Regions from separate parts of the Homo sapiens genome. Here regions 1, 2, 3, 4, 6 and 7 are each linked to region 5. Evidence: promoter capture Hi-C in 16 types of primary human blood cells and fetal thymus (Javierre and others, 2016). All regions are on one chromosome and are shown on one strand. The core of a region is centred on a gene start or on the middle of the fragment in contact, and the rest is flanking DNA. Distances in the headings are between cores, read along the strand shown.

Region 1 (2,739 bases), core at 200-2,699, 530 kb after region 5:
CACCACCAAGCCTGGCTAATTTTTCTATTTTTAATAGAGACAGGGTTTTGCCATGTTGGGCAGGCTGGTCTCCAACTCCTGGCCTCAAGTCATCTGCGCGCCTTGGCCTCCAAAGTGTTGGGATTACAGGAGTGAGCCACTGCACCTGGCCCATCCACTTTACTGATGAGCATGTTCAAAAACTAATTATAGGTACTGGTAATCTCCATTTTTGCGATATTATAAGAATTAACTGAGTAATTATTTATCGAACATCTACTATACATACAACATGCTTTCTGAGAATTAAGATGACACAGGCTAGCATTCTGCCTACAAGAAGCTTAATAGGGATAAGACACAAACACAAATAACTGTAATATGAGGCAGAATGTGTTAAGTAACATGAGAGAGTAACCGATAAAGTGCGTGGAAATTCAGAGGAAGAGATTACTTCCAGCTGGTACAGTCAGGGATGACTTGATAGAAGAAACAGCATTTAGGCCGGGAGCGGTGGCTCATGCCTTAATCCAGCACTTTGGGAGCCAGGGCAGGCAGATCACCTGAGGTCAGGAGTTCGAGACCAGCCTGGTCAACATGGGAAAACCCTGTCTCTACCAAAAAATACAAAAAATTAGCCAAGTCTGGTGGTGCACGTCTGTAGTCCCAGCTACGGGGAGAGTGAGGTGGGAGGATTGCTTGAACCTGGGAGGCGGAAGTTGCAGTAAGCCAAGATCATACCACTTCACTCCAGCCTGGGCTACAAAGTGAGACTCTGCCTCAAAAAAAAAAAAGAAAGAAAGAAAGAAAGAAACAGAATTTAGATCATGCTTTGATGAATTCCAGGATTTGTTTGTTTTGAAACAGAGTCTTGCTCTATTGCCCAAGCTGTAGTGCAGTGGCGTGATCTTGGCTCAGTGCAGCCTCAACCTTCTGGGCTCAGGTGATTCTCCCACCTCAGCCTCCCAAGTATCTGGGACTACAGGCACAGGCCACCACACCTGGCTAATTTTTTGTATTTTTCTGTAGAGACAGGGTTTTGCCATGTTGCCCAGGCTGGTCTCAAACTCCCAACCTCAAGTGATCTGCCCGCCTGAGCCTCCCAAAGTGCTGGGATTACAGGCATGAGCCGCCACACCTGGCCAGAATTCCAGGCTTTCAGTACGTCAAGATGAAGAAAGAAGTAGGGTAAAATCATATGTCTCTCTTTGAGTCATTCCATTATCCAGATACAAGCAAAACAAGGCTTCCAAAATAGGACCATAGTTCCCCATACTAAGTATAGCATAAATCTCCGAACACCCAGGACACCACAAATTACAGGTTCCAGGCAGTTGACACAGGTCTCTCTGTTACAGCTACTAATATGGCTAGAAGGTATGGTCACCTCTAAACATGATAAATTTATCCTATCCTAAATTAACATTTGTCTTCTTAAAGTTCTTGAAATAATAAACCTCTTTACATTAATGTTTACTGGTTTAACAATTATTAAAATATAGCATATACTAAAAGGTAAGTTAACAATTTTCCCTATTGAAATTTGATCTGATTTTCTCTGAGGAAGAATTAATAAATATGATTACAAAGTTTTTGGTTTTTTTTTTTTTTTTTTTTTTTAACATTTTTGGAAAAAACATTCCAGATCTAAAAGGAACTTGCAAGAGCCCTTGATTGTCTTACAGATGTGAAAACTGAGGGCCCATAAGTTAGATGATCTCTCCAGGACGGTTAAAAAAAAAAAAAATTCCCTCATAAAGTTGAGCTTTGCCAAACAACTTTTAATAATTCTTACATGGTTTGAGTACACTATCTTTGGACTAAATAACAACTCTCTCCTACACAGACTTAACTACATGAATTGTTAAGTGCCTCAAGTAAAAAAACCTGGAGAATTAGGTTTCTGTTCTGCCTTTGCCACTAATTATGTGACCTTGGATAAGTCACTTAATTGATTATTGAAATATCCCTAACATAGGAGGTTAGTTTACATGAAATCCAAAGTGCTCTGTGTCTTTAAAGTTCTGTAAGTCTAAGCATTTGAAAACTACAGTAACAGAAAAAAAAAAAAACAACTACAGTGACAGAAAATGTACAATACTTCCATTTTATACCCACTGCTCCAGTTCTAACCACTTTGGAACAATATTTTATAGTAACATTAGGCTGCCAGAAGGCAAATTGTCTAACCATAACAAATTGTGTGTGCAAGAGAGATACAAGAATAACAGGTGGTATAATAATTCAGGATAAATATGCACAACTCTCTCTCAAAAAAAGTCAAGTTCTTTCTTGAATCTCTAAATGCTTCAGGATCCCTTACTTCCAGAATTATAGTCACCTTCTCCTTTGTAATTCACCGCAATATTTTATACACATATACATGCACACACAATTCATGGTCATATTAAGGCTAGTTTCTATAATTGTCAGGGAGGACTGTTCTGTCTTTTCTATTTATATGAAGCTATTATAGATAAAATCAGAGAGAAGATTACAATAAAATGTAGACCACATACGAAACCTAAAACTTGAAAAGTAATTTACTCAGTGAGGGTTTTAAGTCCATCACATTTCTATTCTAAAACAAAAGCTTGCAGAGAATTAAAACACACACACACACACACACACACACCCGTTATCAGTTTCTGCAGTGAACTTCTATATGAAGACATAAATAGATGGCAAATCAATGGAAACTCAAGAGAATCATTTTCTTTCTTTGCTGTCCCTCAAAACACAATTAAAAAGATACATAAA
Region 2 (2,700 bases), core at 50-2,549, 740 kb after region 5:
TCTCGAACTCCTGACCTCAAGTGATCCTCCCACCGCGGCCTCCCAAAGTGCTGGAATTATAGGCATGAGTCACTGCGCCTGGCCTTCTGTATTTTATTTTTTGCTATGTATATTTCAGTAAGCTTAATAATGCAAAAAAAGGGAAAGATACCATATTTAGTATTGAAATTAATGAGAGGGATTTTCCCCATGTAATTACCGCACAAGTTTAATTATTACCTGTAGTTAATGTAAAAACACCAAGAATTGTCTTATTGTTAGCTGACCACCATTCTACTTCCATCCTAAAATACCACAAATTCCAGAGGAATGCAAAAAGTATATTGAGCTCTTGTTATTTCTCTCTCTAAAACATCACATTCATTTTTTTCCTTTGGGTATCCACTCCACTCAATCCAGAAGAGGCTGACCAGTTCAGAAGGGGTTGACCTCACCCACTAGCCCCAGGAATGAACATACAAGTCTGGCCAGGCTAAAAAGAATACAGCATTTTCCAGCCAAAGCAACTGATCCAGGAGTGGGCACAAGACACTATGGAGGCCTAACAGAGTCAATGAATACCAGCTTCAGGACTTCAGCTGAATCTACGGAAAAGTGAGTTTTCTCCTGATTGAGTTGATAAGCCAGTAAGATAGAGTTGCCATCTTTACACCATTTAGAAAAGGCCTAGCCTAAAACCAAGCCAACATACACTAGAAAACAGAATTGAGAGATGGAAAGATAAGTCTGGACTTTTCAGTTATAAAAACCAATAAAATTTCCCTAAATGCCTAAACCAGTTTGATGTTTTTTAAAACACAACTGAAAAGTGTCCAGATTATTACAAAGGACATGCATCACCTGCAACACGTAAGCAGAAAGGAAGCTGAAAGCCAGGAATATAGGACATATGACAGAGAAGCTCTTAAGACTATCAAGAAGGCCGGGCACAGTGGTTCATGCTTATGATCCCAGCACTTTGAGAGGCCAAGGCGGGCAGATCATGAGGTCAGGAGTTCAAGACCAGCCTGACCAACATGGAGAAACCCCATCTCTACTTAAAACACACAAAAAATTAGCCAGGCATGGTGGCGTGCACCTGGAATCTCAGCTACTCAGGAGGCTGAGGCAGGAGAATTGCTTGAACCTGGGAGGCGGAGGTTGCAGTGAGACAAGATCGTTGCCACTGCACTCCAGCCTGGGCAACAGAGGGAAACTGTCTCAAACAAACAAACAAACAAAAAGACTATCAAGAGAAACAAAAAGAATTTATCACCATAAACTGCATTACTTCCTTCTTTCTCAATACTATACTGTTGCACTGTATAAAGAAACTAGCTTTCTACATTTTACCTCTATTTTTACTAGGATTTTAAACTTTCTGCATTGTATTTCTAAGCAGATCTTCTACATTGCTAGGCTGTAAGCTCTTCTGATTACATGTTCATATCTGATTATTCTTTCTTCTGTGTCTGGCATTATACATCACAATCACAAAATCCTAAATAAGTAGTTATTGAATGGCTTCAATCTTACATGTAGTTCTTTCTGAACTCCTTGTAATCAACAGCATCACCCATGACCCTACTTCAAGGTAAGGGCTTTACTACTTGTCTTAGGTTGCAGTGGAAGGTCAAGCTACCAGGCTAGACACTGGTTCTTTGGTATCTTGGCATGTGTAGAATGGTGGATGGAAATAAGTCTCTGTTGTCATCTCTACTATCTGTAAAAAACAAAAAGGTTCTCACCTATCTTTCACTAAGCTCATCTTTTTCACACGTATGTCAAATCTGTGCACAAACTTTTTTTCATTAAAAAAGGGCTAAAACTGTGTAGTCACTTATAGAAAAATTTTACAGGAAAAAGGAGGACTGATCACTTGATGAGAACCTTTGTGGAGATGCCAGTTTAGATTTGTTCAATGGACTTACCAAAGTAAGAGTACCCAGATAATCACCCACTCTAAAGGTCCGATAAAATGAAACCTAAATATTTTGTTTAATATTCAATAATGTCATTCGGGATTTATAATCTCCTATTTTCAGCGCCGGGCGCAGTAGGTCATGCCTGTAATCCCAGCACTTTGGGAGGCCAAGGCAGACAGATCACTTGAAGTCAGGAGTTTGAGACCAGCCTGGCCAATGTGGTGAAACCCCGTCTCCACTAAAAGCGATTACAGGCGCATACCACCACACCTTAGCCAGGCTGTAATCCCACTACTTGGGAGGCTGAGGCAGGAGAATCACTTTTAAACTGGGAGATGGAGGTTGCCGTGAGCTGAGATCGTGCCACTGCACTCCAGAGCAGAGCCTGGGTGACAGAGCCAGACTCTGTCTCAAAAAAAAAAAAAAAAAAATACACACACACACACACACACATATATACATACATATATGTATGTATTTTTTTTCCTATTTTCAACTGCCATACAGAGATACAACACTATCCTGTTGTCAGACACTTTGGGATGGTACAGCTACCAACCTTAGAAGCTTTTGGATTTGATTCTTTTAAAATATATCCTCCTTGAAAACAAGTTTCACTCTGATACACTTGCTGCAAAGATCTATATCTATAATAGCTGTCCTACAAAATTCTGTCACTTCCTCCTAATACAAGCTTTTGTTTATGAATAGTACCACTAATCCTTTAAGACCACTGTCAGCTCTCATGAACACACAAGTGTGTTAACATCAGACTTGGTATTGTTTTTCAACAGAA
Region 3 (2,902 bases), core at 249-2,748, 660 kb after region 5:
ATCACGAGTCTGAGATTTACTCCACGACAATATTTTACTCATCAAGTTTCATAAACCAGTCTAGATAAGATCCAAGGAAATACTTTGTAACAGTGAACTCTGTGGCATCCTCTTTCCTACTAGTGCCTACAGGGTTAAGAATCTGATTAAAATGTAGGTACATCATGCCAGACTCATTAGTAATTTAACCTTTCTTAATCCCTGAAAATAACATATGCAAACAAAGGAAGGTCCCATCCCAGCAATCCTCGAATAAATTCCTCCCAAAGTAGTGATAGTCACAAAGCTTCCCCCTTCTCAAAGGTCTATGCCACTGGGCTCTCCACCTTGGCAGAGGAAGAATGGAAAGAGACAAGATATTCACAAAAGGCCCGATTGAAGGCCTTCAGTTAAGTGCTAGAAGGAAGCTGAAGCTCTGTGCCAACACTAGTGGAATGTGGGCAGGCACAAAGAGATCTTAATTAGGAGACCTACAATTAAAACACAGCGAGTTTCCAAAAGAGAGAGGCACTGCAGTCTGTTATGCCTCTGAGCAAGCAAAGCACTGTTGCCACCCCCTCTAGCCACAGGGTAAGGGAGGCAATTGGTATAGAGTCTGCACAGCTGCCCCACGGAAGGACAGCTCTAAGGTGAGCAAAGAGATGAGAATTAAGTCAAGATGGGAATAGTTTCTCTCAACTTCCAATAAGAAGATGGATCACTATTGTGTGAATGATGATTTCCTCCAGGAGTATGTGCCTTAAGATAATTAAATGGAAGTGAAAGATGGGGACATGTCATCTGGTTTTCAGTCACAGAGGAAGAAAAGTTCTAAAGACTGAATTTCTAATGCTCAGTATAAACCATTTCAGAACATATTAATAACTACATCCTATGAAGTAGGTACTATCACTTCAGATTTATAAATACATTGATGTATTGGATTTTTCTTTTCATTCAAAATTCATACACCTACAGGAATATACCACCTAGACTGAAAATAACTTCTCTTTTGGATAGTCTGGAATTCACAACAATGACAACACATTTAGCCAAACAAGAGGGCCTCTAAACACCAGATAATGCCTGGGATTCTGTAGGTTCTCAGAACTATGTGTAAAAACTTTATCCTCATTTTTCTTATAAATGAAACTGGTCAACTTCCCCAAAGTCCTTATGTTTTTTCCACACAACGAAAACTTTCCAAGTTGAAATTTCTCCTCCTAATAATAATGCCAGTTATATAGGCAAATGTATAATCTGATATTAAAAATTACCAAACAGAATCCCAGCTACTCAGGAGGCTAAGGCAGGAGGATCAGGAGTTCAAGATGCACCTGGGCAACATAGTGAGACCCTGACTCAAAAAAAAAACAAAAATTATCAAATCGTCTCACTTGACTCTGACTTTTGAAATAAACTCAGAATAAGAAATTCTGATTTGACCAAAAGTTTAATACAACAGAAAGGAATCATAATACTGACACAGAACAGATTCATGAGCTATTTAGTCCAAACTTTTCATTTTACAGATCAGAAATTTAAGGTTAAAAGTGAATTTGCCCAGGGTCTCATAACTGTTCAGTAACGGAGATGAGAGCCCACATCCACTGACTTCTACTCGGAGGCTTCGTGCACTCCACTCTGCTTGTGTTCCCTCCTTCATTTACCTTCTGCCAATCTTAGGACTAGCTGTGAAGGCAACGAAGGAGCAACTCCCACTCTTGGTACATACATGACCAGTAAACATTAAAAAAAAAAAAAAAAAATCACGCTCTCCTACTACCTTTCAGCTGCAGGAGTACTATCTTTTCAAGTCCAATCCAAAAGCCTGTCTCAGTCCACATGAACTAAACTGCAATTTCAAGTGAAAATAAATACACACCAATGCTGTAACTCAGTTTCAATTTGTATCTAATTAAAGTTTGCTATGTTATGATCAGGATGGAAATTTTGCTTTTAATATTTTGTGAAGTAGTAGGGAAGGTAACTGGATTATGACATTAATAAACGAAGACTAGTTACTGATAAACACACTGTTTCAGGGGTTTATTATTACAACAGCCTAACTTCTAGTCAACAGAAAGGGTGCTGCTGTACTATGTTTATTTAGATGGCAAAGTACAGTAGTATGAACATTACCTGAGAGAATCCTTAGAAAAATGGGATACTGACACTACAGAGGGAAGGGGAAAGGCAAAAAATGGACCTCTGATTTCTTACAGTGCTCAATAAAACAAAACCTCAATTCTACTTCCTAATTGTCATACAAAGGAAGTTAGGAACCAACAGCAGTGAAGGACAAGTCTCCTATGGCTAAGGGAGTTCAAACAGCAAAGTCATCTGGAAGTTCTGTTACCTAGTTTTAGAAGTATTAACATAGGTGTTGTTACATAGGCAAGTTATAGTCATTATTCACTGAAGGCGAACCAGAGTTTAAAGAGGTTAGAATCATTTTGGATCATATAACCATTTCTTCATGAATCCAGATAAGACTTGATACAGAGCTATGAGTGAGTTCTGAGAAGCAGTCTTTAGAATTCTATGTCAGCCCAGGGTGAACCCTAAACTTCCCTTTTGGAACTTTATCATTGATTAGTAAGGCTATGTTAAAAAAAAAAAAAAAGTGCTTGCTTCTACACTGAAAACTACCAGCTCAGAGGTTTACCACTACTCAATGCATACCATCAACTCATACTGGATTGCCTCAAACACCACATAAAAAGCTTACCCATGGAACAGAGCTCATTCAAGTCCAATTCAGAAAAAATACTCAAGTTTAATGTAAGGAGTCAACCACTCTTCTCATAATGAAGCAGCAACTACTGTTCAGGAAAAAGTTTTAAAGACAAAAACCCCTTATAAATATGATCCTATTTGAAATAACTGCAATTCCTTGACAGGCTTTACATTATATACTAGT
Region 4 (2,804 bases), core at 108-2,607, 700 kb after region 5:
TACAGCAGAGGGGAATGGCTGAGTTAATCTAGGCTGACATCTTGCATGGCAGGGGTATGGAAACAAGGAGCAAGAAAGGGGAAGATAACAGCAAATGATTACAAAGACCTGGGGTTCAGGCCAGATAAAGAAAAACAGTGAAGCCAAAAGAGAGCTGGTTAGGAAAACCATACTGTGAGATTCATCTCCTGAGGGTAACCCCAGGGTCCCCTCCAGAGGCCTGGTAAGGCAGGCTGGGTCAGCCAGGTCACACATATTTGATGTTACTTACCTAAAAAAAAAGTGAAACGTCAGAATCCTCTAAGTTTTCAGGGGGATTTCTGAAACTGCCACTAGCTTTTAATACTGGAATAAAGTGATAACAAAGGTTGTAAGTCAGATGTTCATTTATTAAATACAAGTTTTGAACAAACACTGCCAGGCAAGTTTGACAAGAAGTAACCTTCCTGGAATGTTTCAAAATACAGTCGCGTTGATCAAGTTTTATTTCAATCAACCTTTTCATTTTCTGTTTCTAGGTTCATTTCCTGTTGAGCAGTTAGAGCATGTGCATTATTTCCTCACATGACATCAACAGTGCAGCATCAGCCTCTGGCATGTAAAGGCACCCAGTAGACTTATGCTCTGTGCAATGGCTGCTTAGCAACCACCATCAAATAAAGTAATGAAGCTTTTGTAGAGTGTGATATCAAATAGCAACTGGCACCTTCACTTGCACCATTAAAAAACCTTTAACATTTCCTTCAGTTTTCACATATCCATTAAAAAGTATATTAAAAAACAAAACCCAGACTGCTTGATAAAACATACTTAAACAATTTTCCAAGTTTAGTATTAGCCTCTTGGTAAGTTATGAGCAATACCAGAGCTGAGTAAAAGAGTCTTCATTTTGCTATCATACTCCAGCAAAGCCAATACACAAAACTAGGTATGTTAGAAAGTCTGCTCTACTAGATTTAGAGCTGCTTCTAAGTTCCAGACAAAACACCTTTTTAAGCTTCCAAGTGTATATACACACGGTGTTGTACCAAGATAACTTTTTAAAGTCTAATTTTTTTGGATATTCTTAAATTACTTCACAGAAAGAAAAAAGGCACAGAGGACACTTGGTTTCCTTACCAGTAGTGGCCTTAAGCTACACACTTGCTTGTGCAGAGTTTAAAGATATTCAGCAGCATTAATGGTGCCATAGCCATTCATAAAAAGTTTCAGGAAAAGAGTTTAAAAAAAGAAGAAAAGCTTGCCAGAAAAGGCTTACAATCTGAAGGTTAAATACAGAAGAATACAGACAAAGACTGGAGGCAGCATGGGGGTTGTTAACTAGGAAGCTGCTGGGAATAGCTGCCTTCTGAGTTTTTGTGCCCATTTTCCTCCAGTTTTCTCCTGAAAAACTCTGGTCTTTTCCCCTCGTTTTTAAAATGAGAACATCCTACTAGATTGGGTTTGGAAGATAAATGCAAATAGGCAGAAGCTTATTTTATACATAGTTCATTCTCAGAGAGGGAAAGGAGGATGATAAATATTGAATGAAGCTAATTTTAGAAAATAAACAAATCCTGTCAACCCATGCCATAAAGGCCCAGGGAGCACACTGAATGAATCTTACATTCTGGCATTTGCAAAAGTGTCCTCAATTTCCTTTTTCATTTTATAAGCACAGCAATAGGCAACACCTATTTTATATCTAGGATGGGAAGCCCTCTTAGATTTGAGGCTTTCCAGCTGATGCAATCAAAAACCCATCAAGGACTGCTTATAGCAACTTGTGTTGAAATATAAAACTACTATTTATTTGAAAGAGACCATAGTTAATAACATGTTCCAAATGAAGCAGTGACACCCATTTCTTGATCCTATCACTTTTCTTGTCACTTATGACATCTCTGGGCTTAGAAAGACAGTGATATAAAGATAATCCATAGGGGAATGTCCCTAGTCAGCATATTAAGCTGCACAATTGAGTAGTGAGCTCAAGTTCACTTATGAAAGTGGTGTCCACCTACCAACTACACAGGGCTAAGTGGATATTTAAAATGGCTGTGGACAAGGTTGTGCTCAACTTCCTACTTTGTTAATTGAAGACCTAAGGCTGTGTTAGAAGTAGCTCTTAGAAGTCAGGTCACAAGCTCAAACAAATATTAACTATATACATTTTATAATCTCAGAATTTTGTGAAGAATGAGTATGTTAGTAAACATGGCCACATACTGCATACATCTCACTATGGAAGAGAAAATATAAAGTGGTACTCAGTTTACACTAAACCAACAAAAAAGCACATGGGGTGTATGTGTATTTATATATCTCACACACTGAGATATACTGTTGATATTAGTGTCTTAAAATGACATTTTTCATGGATATGATACCCGTTGCCTAAATCTACTTAGGCCTAGTCCTTGTAGAAACAGATTTTCATAAGAGAATAAGGGCCCAACAGTCTCCTCACCCCCATCAATTGGTAGGATTGCCCTACCAATCCTCATTAAAAAGACTGTATAACAAAATTAAGAGCTATCAACAGAAGTTGCACAAGATTCCTTTAAATTCCTTTTTTAAAAAAAATTCTCGTCTATCATCTTATTCAGAAGTCTACACAAACTTAAAGGTATCTGCTTTTATGTGAAGTTACTCTGTAACACAGAAAAGGGGTTAAGTCTAGATCATGAGGACTAGTAAATACACAGGATAACAGGATTTTTCTGATAACATCAGCTGTCACTGAAATATGTGACATCACATATTTATAAAAGCAGCACTCACCAAAAATGTTTGAACAGTAATTGGAAGAGAAATAGCAGGGT
Region 5 (2,700 bases), core at 201-2,700:
TTGGAGTCCTTTCCCTAACTCACTGGTGGTGACTTCCTCTCTGACAAATGGAAATCATTTGCCGCCTAAGAGCCTGTCGGGGAATGAAAGGTAATAAAGATGCTGGTGAACTGGCTGGGCGTGGTGGCTCACGCCTGTACTCCCAGCATTTTGGGAGGCCAAGGCGGGCAGATCACCTGAGGTCGGGAGTCCCAAACCAGCCTGACCAACATAGGGAAATCCCGTCTCTACTAAAAATACAAAATTAGCCGGGCGTGGTGGCGCATGCCTGTAATTCCAGCTACTGCCTGTAATCCCAGCTACTCGGGAGGCTGAGGCAGGAGAATCTCTTGAACCTGGGAGGTGGAGGTTTCGGTGAGCCGAGATCGCGCCATTGCACTCCAGCCTGGGCAACAAGAGCGAAACTCTGTCTCAAAAAAAAAAAAAAAAAAAAAAAAAAAAAGCTGGTGAATTGTTGTTTGCAGGGGAACAGGCCAAGCAAAATGCACAGCAACCTGCAGGAGGCCAAGCAAAATGCACAGTGACCTACAGGAAGAAACCTGACTGGGAGTTCCTCAGACTCACAGGAAATCAGTTGTGGGTCTGATTCCTCTCCCTCCTCAGCTCTTTCCAGAGCCTCAGCCTGGAAATCTCCATCTCCTCCTTGTGGGAGCTAGGTACAATGCAGTGATCCACGGCCAAGCTGAAGTCTCGAGTTAAATCCAAGACCTGAGGGTACTCCCAATCCCTCAGTGAAGTGCTGCGCTGGGTTGCCGGGCAACTAACTGCTACAGCTGGGGCAGAAGGTGGGTGGGATGCTGAGAAAAAAATACCAGAATCGAGGACAAGAAAAACAGAGTGGGAGGGGCTTTTCAAGGATCTACGCTTTAGAATTTACACCATCCTTCCAAATCGTAGCTTTGTTTCCGGGAACTGAGTTGTGTTTACCTTGGCTTCCGACTATGTTGGCAACAGGTTTCCTGCAAGAAACAGGCGCGTCTCCACACCCTCGTCCCTCCTCCCCACCCCCTGCCTTTCAATAGCCATCTTCCTGGAGCCGGAGGCATCCCAGATTAAGGGAGAGGTACGGGCCCTTTAAGCTTGACCTATGGAGGCGGACGGAGCTAAAACTGACGTGGAACCGGAATGTGAGCGGTGTCAGACACGTGGTACAAGGAGGCATTCATCTTGGAACCGGGCAATTGGCATTTCCGCTCTGGGTAGTACATCTTTAACATAATGTTAGGGAAGTATCCGTTCTTGGCTGCCTTTCTTTAATTGCGTTTCCAGTACTCTCTCGGTGATTCTACTCTTGAACATAGGATGAAATTTGGAATCACACTTCTCTTCCACTTCCATCCCCACCCTCTAATGCCCATATTAAAAATGGCGGCCGCCGCCTTCCGCAGTAATGGTTGTTCAGCGAACAAGATCCGGGCGGAAACAGTAGATAGGCGGGTGCAGCGGGGCAGAACATAGGTTGCCTTAGAGAGGTTCCCCGGTGTCCCGACGGCGGCTCAAGTCAGAGTTGCTGGGTTTTGCTCAGATTGGTGTGGGAAGAGCCTGCCTGTGGGGAGCGGCCACTCCATACTGCTGAGGCCTCAGGACTGCTGCTCAGCTTGCCCGTTACCTGAAGAGGCGGCGGAGCCGGGCCCCTGACCGGTCACCATGTGGGCCTTCTCGGAATTGCCCATGCCGCTGCTGATCAATTTGATCGTCTCGCTGCTGGGATTTGTGGCCACAGTCACCCTCATCCCGGCCTTCCGGGGCCACTTCATTGCTGCGCGCCTCTGTGGTCAGGACCTCAACAAAACCAGCCGACAGCAGATGTGAGCAGCGGCACACGGGTCCGGGCAGGGGGCAAGGGCTAAGGAAGGAGTGGCTAGGGCAGGGGCGGGAACCGGGGTGCTTGACCACACGTGAAGACTCAGAACTAACCCAGGCAGCCTGGAACTCGGAGAGGTGATGAGCAGAACTTACTCGCATTGGGGAAAGGATGGGTAGGGACCCTTGGGTATATCTGGGACTCTGGCAGTGGTGCTTTCCTCCCTCCGCCCCCCTCACCACTTACCAGAATAAAAAACCGGGAATGAGAAGACCACTTTGGGTTACTGTAACACCTGCACTAGTGAGTGACCACGCCCCCTTTCCTCTTCCCCCTCGCCCCCTTGCTGCTGGGCCACAGCCCAGAATCCCAGGGAGTGATCAGCGGTGCTGTTTTCCTTATCATCCTCTTCTGCTTCATCCCTTTCCCCTTCCTGAACTGCTTTGTGAAGGAGCAGTGTAAGGCATTCCCCCACCATGAAGTAAGTGGGTTCGTGGGGGTGATTGCCTGTGGCTGGGACCTGGGAGGTACCTGAGAGAACTGGGGTTATTTGGGCTTGTGGGGAGGGGCTAAGAAATTATCAGAAAAGACAGGAATTCTTAAAAGGTGGAATGGGAGCAGGCTTGAGTCATGGACCTGCCCGAGCCTCCCCCAGTTTGTGGCCCTGATAGGTGCCCTCCTTGCCATCTGCTGCATGATCTTCCTGGGCTTTGCGGATGATGTACTGAATCTGCGCTGGCGCCATAAGCTGCTGCTACCTACAGCTGCCTCACTACCTCTCCTCATGGTCTATTTCACCAACTTTGGCAACACGACCATTGTGGTGCCCAAGCCCTTCCGCCCGATACTTGGCCTGCATCTGGACTTGGGTAGGTAGTCCTACCACTGCTGCCCCT
Region 6 (2,710 bases), core at 1-2,500, 860 kb after region 5:
CCTAAGAAAGTGGGGACTGAGGGATAAAAGCTTTCCAGCAGAGGGACAGCATTTGCAAAGGCACAGAAGGCAGGACAGGTTTAGCATGGCAAAGTCGGAAAGGGTGCCATAGGCAGACCAGAAGTAATCTTCATCTTTGGGAGGGTCAGATTCTTATGAGTTCTTATTAGTGGGTTCAGTTTTGGTCTCCTCCTTTTAAAAGGAATGTCAACAGACTGGATTGTCTAGAGAGGAGCAAGAAAAATGATTCAAAGCTGGCAGAGGTAGAGGCAGTGGAACTGATGACTCATAACTGTGACAGGAAAGGTTGAGAGTGTGTGGGCAGGACTGAAGAGGTGGCAATAATGACAATGACACTGTCTAACACGCACTGAGCACTTACTCTGGTTCGGGTAGGCTTCTTAGTGTTGTATGTGTTTTAACTCTTTTAATCCTCACAGTGGCCTTCTGAGGTAAGTACTGTTATTATCATTCCCATGAGGCTGAGAAGACTGAAGAAGTACGGTAACTTACTAAGGCTGCAGAGCCAGCAGGTGACAGGGCCGGGATTTGAACCCAGACCCTCTGGTGTAGGAGCCGTGGCCTGCGTGCTCAATCACAACACCATTCTGCCTGTACCAGAAGCACTGCCGATTTTCAGGACAGCGTGTGGGTTTGCACTTTTCTGAAATCTTGCTGCTCTGTTTATCTTGGCCAGCAGAAGATTCATGGCTTCTTGAGGTAGATAAGGAAGCAGGAAGAACAAAGTACTGGCAATGTCATTTCCTAAAATATGCCCCTGTAGGGAAAGATAAGTTTTTGTTCTCTGAAAGCAGAAGGAACTGGTTAGAACAAAGTGCCAGCCCTTTTCAGAGAGATGAAGTGTCAGAGTTGGATAAATGAGTGGTTTTGGAAGACGTAAGTCTCTAGTGGGTTTTAAAATGGTACCTTATTTTTACTTGCTAGAATGCATTTACCTATTCTGTTTTCTTCTCCATGATTTACTTTTAATGGATGTGTGATTCCTCAGCCAGCTTTAAGAAAAAGGGAAAAACTAGATAGTACCTTGGGGGCAGTTTTAGAAAATTATTTGAAATAAATTCTCCCATTCTTACTTCCTATTCTCATTTTGCTGTTGATGAGGCAATGGTAGCTTCATGATGCAACCATGCTATACTTGGGGTAAGTCCCTTAGACCACAAAAGCTGCCATATTCCCAGAGTGTGTGTGTGTGTGTGTGTGTGTGTGTGTGTGTGTGTGTGTGTGTGTGTGTCTGCGGGGGATGGAAGGGGATGGGTGATGTTGCCTTTTAGCCAGCCATGGGCAGACCCATTGTTTGTACTTAATTGAACCACAAGCCTGTATTCGGGAAAACGCTGGTGTGACCAGATTTTAAATTTTTACACAAGCATTCAGTTGTGATTTAAGATTAGAAAATGATTGAAAAATGCTATCTTTGATTAATGCAGATATCAACTCCTTGTCCCTTGTGGGCTTGCCTGAGAAGATAGTTGTTAATATTTATTGCTCTGGCTTTTTGATGAGGGCTCTAAAAATAATTGTTCACTCACATCTGTATATTCCACCCACATGAATGCATTTTAAGTGTTTGGGTTTGCTTTGATTAGGTGTTTATATCGTCTTTTCCTTGGAGATTCGTGCAGATGCCCATGTCCGAGGTTATGTTGGAGAAAAGATCAAGTTGAAATGCACTTTCAAGTCAACTTCAGATGTCACTGACAAACTTACTATAGACTGGACATATCGCCCTCCCAGCAGCAGCCACACAGTATCAGTAAGTGTGTACTTTTTCGGAATGTTCCTTTGGTCAACAGTTTTGGAATTGTTTTACTGCAAATCATAGGCATGCCTGAGGCCATCTCATCTTAGAGTAGAAGATGGGCTTCTACTTTAATAGAGATAGATGAACTTTTATCCTATATGACATTCATTTGGTCACGCAGGGCCCCACGTAAGAATTCTGTAAATAAGCTGCAGGAAAAAAGCTGTCAGAAACTCAGAGGAAATGTGGTTTAATTTTGTTTCCTCTTTGTTGTTTCTTTTTGCATTATTTCATAGCTTCATTTTCAGATTTAATGTACTAAAAAGGGTACCTTCAGGACTATTGAATAGAAAAATTCTATGGGTCCAGTCATGGACATCCTTTCTCTTAAGGCTGCTCATTTTCTGTCATATTAAGTTGTCTCAATGGGTGTATCTGTTTGCATATTTGCGCTTTGTGGAGTTATCTTGGCACTTTCTCCCAGTGTATAAACATCTGCATTGATTTATATGGCTGCCTTTGAAGGAAATGGTGGCACCTCGTGTTGGTGACAGATGTTGGTGACAGATGGTCTTGCAATATTGGAAGCAATATACCTTATTGAGGTATATTAGTCACACATATAAAACACATTTATGGTCCAAGTTTCATTGTAGGTGTCTAATTGAAGATTAAAATGCTATAAAATTTTTTTCTCTTTAAGCTTCCAGCAGTATCCTTAGCTCAGGATAGATGTTATTCAAGAATGTGAATGTCATAGCTGTATGGAAGATTGTATTTTTTAAAGTATTGTTAATTTATTTATCCCATTTCCTTCACTGGAAAAATGTCCTCTTTGACTTTCATGTATAAATAAGCTTTGCATTCTGTGTTAGGAGCCATTATAGAATGCCACATAGCTTGAGGCTAGGTAGGGGACTCCAGTGAAAGAAGCTAGGCTGTATTCAT
Region 7 (2,700 bases), core at 150-2,649, 790 kb after region 5:
AAATTAGCCAGAACTGTATTACAGATAGATATGAATGACAAAAGAACCAACCAAATGCAGGAAGTCATCTGTCATCCAGGTCTTAGATTTGCTTGTCAGAAGGGAGCGCTACTGGCCTTCTCAGAAATAAAGCTCTCCACACCACTGAATCACTGATTCGTGGACTTACCTATTTCTTACAATTTAAAATCCTTTCTCAGAACTGAGTCCCTCATAATAGAGAAGAAACATCTTTGTTCTTATTCCATATAATTTTCTCTCTATTTGCCTTTAAATAATGTGAAATACTCTACACGTTTTGAGGGAATGCTTCTTCCAATAAAAAGTGGCTTCACTTTACATTATATCTGAGCATAATCAGCTCTCAATTATTTTTGTTAGAGGGAGGCCTATTAGTGTGGACAACTGAAATCAACTAATAAACCACTAATGCCATTCGTAGGTCCAGCCTGTGTTTCCCACAGCAGCCATTTTTGCCCTGGGAGGTGGAGCTAGGAGTCCTTTATTATTTCCTGGAAAACTTGTGGCTGGAACACTGGGTTCTGCTACAGTCTGGACATAACAGCTGGAAGAGAGGAGAGGCAGTGCTGCTGCTGTCAGGGACAGAGCTCTGGACTCAAGAGTCAGAAGCCCTGAGTTTGAATCCTGGATCTGCCCTAGTCTGTGTGACTGAGGGCAAGTCATTTAACTTTGCTGAACCTCAACTTCTTTATCAGGGAAATGGAGATAAAACACCAACCTCACAAAGTTTTTGCGAAAATTAAATGGATTATGAAGGTGAAAGTGAATGACACATAGCAGGTGCTCAAGAAAAAGTTACTTCCTTTCCTCCTTTCCTTCTTGAGGTCCTGCTACTCCCAGAGCAGAACTAAACTCTGACCCAGTTGCTCAGGCAGCCCTCTGACAAAGACTGCACAGAATGTAAACAAAACATTCTCCAGGTTTTTCCACCTGCTTATAATTGGGAGTTGAGTATAAGGACAGTAGATAGTTTATATTATTTTAATTTATAAATAATTTTTCAACACGGATGTTTCTTAGACATGTTAAATGAACTAGAAATCATAAATAAAGTACATAGACATTATACTCTGCTGGGTGTGTTTGTTTGAAAAAAATGTAAAGAAAATTGCTCACAACTTTTATTGGCACAAATTCAGTAGCAGAGCTTAGACTTAACTCATGCTCACACAAGGGTCTAGATGTCTGTGCTTAGACAGAAATGTGCTCCACGTATGTTCATTGTGCACTATTCACAATAGCAAAGACATGGAATCAACCTAAATGCCTGTCAGTGGTAGACTGGATAAAAAAATGTGCTGCATATACACCATGGAATACTACGCAGCCATAAAAAAGAATGAGATCACGTCCTTTGCAGGAACATGGATGGGACTGGAGGCCATTATCTTTAGCAAACTAACACAGTGACAGAAAACCAAATACCACATGTTCTCATTTAGAAGTGGGAGCTAAATGATGAGAACACATGAACACAGAGGGAAATGACACACACTGGGACCTCTCAGAAGGTGGAGGGTGGGAGGAGGGAGAGGATCAGGAAAAATAACTAACAGGTACCAGGCTTAATGCCTGGGTGATGAAATAATCTATACAACAAACCCCCATGGCACAAGTTTACCTATATAACAAACCTGCACATGTACCCCTGAATTTAAAATGAAAGTTAAGTTAAAAAAAGATATGTGTGCTCACAAAGATTTTATACATATCCAGAAACAGTATTTCATAATGGTTGAGAAAATGAACTTCGGTATCATATAAATCTGCATTAAAATTTTTTTATTTTTAAATTTCTATTTATTAATTTTTTCAGAGACAGGGTCTTTCTCTGCCACAGAGGCTCGAGTACAGTGGCACAATCTTTGCTCAATGCAGCCTCAACCTTCTGAGCTCAAGCGAGCCTCCTGCCTTGGCCTCCCAAAGTGTTGGGATTATAGGCATGAACCATGGCACTTGGCCTAAATCTGCATTTATATCCCCAGGACTGGATTGTTTACTTATTTTTGTTTATTTCTGTATTTATTTGAGGCTTTGTTTCCTTAACTGTACAGTAGGGGTGTTGGAAGAATTAAATGAGGAAATTCAAGTAAAATATTTAGAGCAATGCCTAAAACATACATGCTCAGTAAACTTTAATGCTTATCATCTATAGTCAGCATGCTTTCCATGTATTAATAGCTAAAATTCACCTACTGTCTGTTTGTTTGTTTGTTTGTTTTGAGACAGAGTCTTGCTCTGTCGCCCAGGCTGGAGTGCAATGGCACAATCTCAGCTCACTCCAACCTCCGCCTCCCAGGTTCAAGCAATTCTCCTACCTCAGCCTCCTGAGTAGCTGAGATTACAGGCACCTGCCACCATGCCTGGCTAATTTTTGTATTTTTAGCAGAGATGGAGTTTCACCATGTTGGCCAGGCCGGTCTCGAACTCCTGACCTCAGGTGATCCTCCCACCTCGGCTTCTCAAAGTGCTGGGATTACAGGTGTGAGCCACCATGCCCGGCCCTCCTACTGCCTTTTATGTCAGATAATGTTCTAAGTGCCTTAAATGAATTACTCATTTGGTCCTCATAATAACCCTACAAGTTAGGTAGCACTATTATTTCCATTGTACCATGATGATGCTGTGGCACAGAAAAGTTAGGTAAATTACTCAAACACACCCAGCAAGTAGAGAGTT

The links. Contacts are between HindIII fragments. The CHiCAGO score rates a contact against its expected background, and 5 or more counts as called.
Region 1: a contact is called between a fragment that was not itself captured here and the fragment with the promoter of DPAGT1 in region 5, in 4 of 17 cell types (naive B cells, total CD8 T cells, naive CD8 T cells and 1 more). The highest score is 7.5, in naive B cells.
Region 2: a contact is called between a fragment that was not itself captured here and the fragment with the promoter of DPAGT1 in region 5, in 4 of 17 cell types (fetal thymus, non-activated CD4 T cells, naive CD4 T cells and 1 more). The highest score is 6.6, in fetal thymus.
Region 3: a fragment that was not itself captured here is called in contact with the fragment with the promoter of DPAGT1 in region 5 in 1 of 17 cell types (non-activated CD4 T cells); the score reaches 5.2 in non-activated CD4 T cells.
Region 4: a contact is called between a fragment that was not itself captured here and the fragment with the promoter of DPAGT1 in region 5, in 1 of 17 cell types (total CD8 T cells). The highest score is 6.2, in total CD8 T cells.
Region 6: a fragment that was not itself captured here is called in contact with the fragment with the promoter of DPAGT1 in region 5 in 1 of 17 cell types (activated CD4 T cells); the score reaches 5.3 in activated CD4 T cells.
Region 7: a contact is called between a fragment that was not itself captured here and the fragment with the promoter of DPAGT1 in region 5, in 2 of 17 cell types (naive CD4 T cells and non-activated CD4 T cells). The highest score is 7.2, in naive CD4 T cells.

What each region holds. Positions count from the first base shown.
Region 1 is chr11:118,575,287-118,578,025 of GRCh38, reverse strand. The region is part of intron 1 of ARCN1 (archain 1 coat protein complex I subunit delta); the gene reads right to left. It also overlaps a transcript of IFT46 not described here. Among named protein-coding and RNA genes, the nearest start is that of ARCN1, 4.2 kb to the right of the region's middle. The HindIII fragment of the contact is 2,250 bases long and covers 325-2,574 here.
Region 2 is chr11:118,360,644-118,363,343 of GRCh38, reverse strand. The region is part of intron 1 of UBE4A (ubiquitination factor E4A); the gene reads right to left. Among named protein-coding and RNA genes, the nearest start is that of UBE4A, 2.4 kb to the right of the region's middle. The HindIII fragment of the contact is 2,349 bases long and covers 125-2,473 here.
Region 3 is chr11:118,439,629-118,442,530 of GRCh38, reverse strand. The region is part of intron 1 of KMT2A (lysine methyltransferase 2A); the gene reads right to left. Among named protein-coding and RNA genes, the nearest start is that of KMT2A, 4.6 kb to the right of the region's middle. The HindIII fragment of the contact is 2,419 bases long and covers 289-2,707 here.
Region 4 is chr11:118,396,776-118,399,579 of GRCh38, reverse strand. UBE4A (ubiquitination factor E4A) reads right to left here. Exons shown (of 20, transcript NM_001204077.2): 20 at 369-2,804. All of the region lies in intron 3 of LOC100131626 (a long non-coding RNA gene), which reads left to right. Among named protein-coding and RNA genes, the nearest start is that of ATP5MG, 3.4 kb to the left of the region's middle. The HindIII fragment of the contact is 232 bases long and covers 1,242-1,473 here.
Region 5 is chr11:119,100,603-119,103,302 of GRCh38, reverse strand. DPAGT1 (dolichyl-phosphate N-acetylglucosaminephosphotransferase 1) reads left to right here and starts at 1,450. Exons shown (of 9, transcript NM_001382.4): 1 at 1,450-1,808; 2 at 2,165-2,285; 3 at 2,460-2,673. The coding sequence starts at 1,648. It also overlaps a transcript of C2CD2L not described here. RefSeq lists enhancers at 182-894, 1,106-1,415, 598-1,797, 1,609-2,322. The HindIII fragment of the contact is 9,998 bases long and covers 1,082-2,700 here.
Region 6 is chr11:118,239,275-118,241,984 of GRCh38, reverse strand. It overlaps MPZL3 (myelin protein zero like 3), which reads left to right. Exons shown (of 6, transcript NM_198275.3): 2 at 1,608-1,774. Among named protein-coding and RNA genes, the nearest start is that of MPZL3, 12 kb to the left of the region's middle. RefSeq lists enhancers at 405-474, 1-942. The HindIII fragment of the contact is 2,435 bases long and covers 33-2,467 here.
Region 7 is chr11:118,309,119-118,311,818 of GRCh38, reverse strand. The region is part of intron 4 of CD3E (CD3 epsilon subunit of T-cell receptor complex); the gene reads right to left. Among named protein-coding and RNA genes, the nearest start is that of CD3E, 5.7 kb to the right of the region's middle. The HindIII fragment of the contact is 2,816 bases long and covers 1-2,700 here.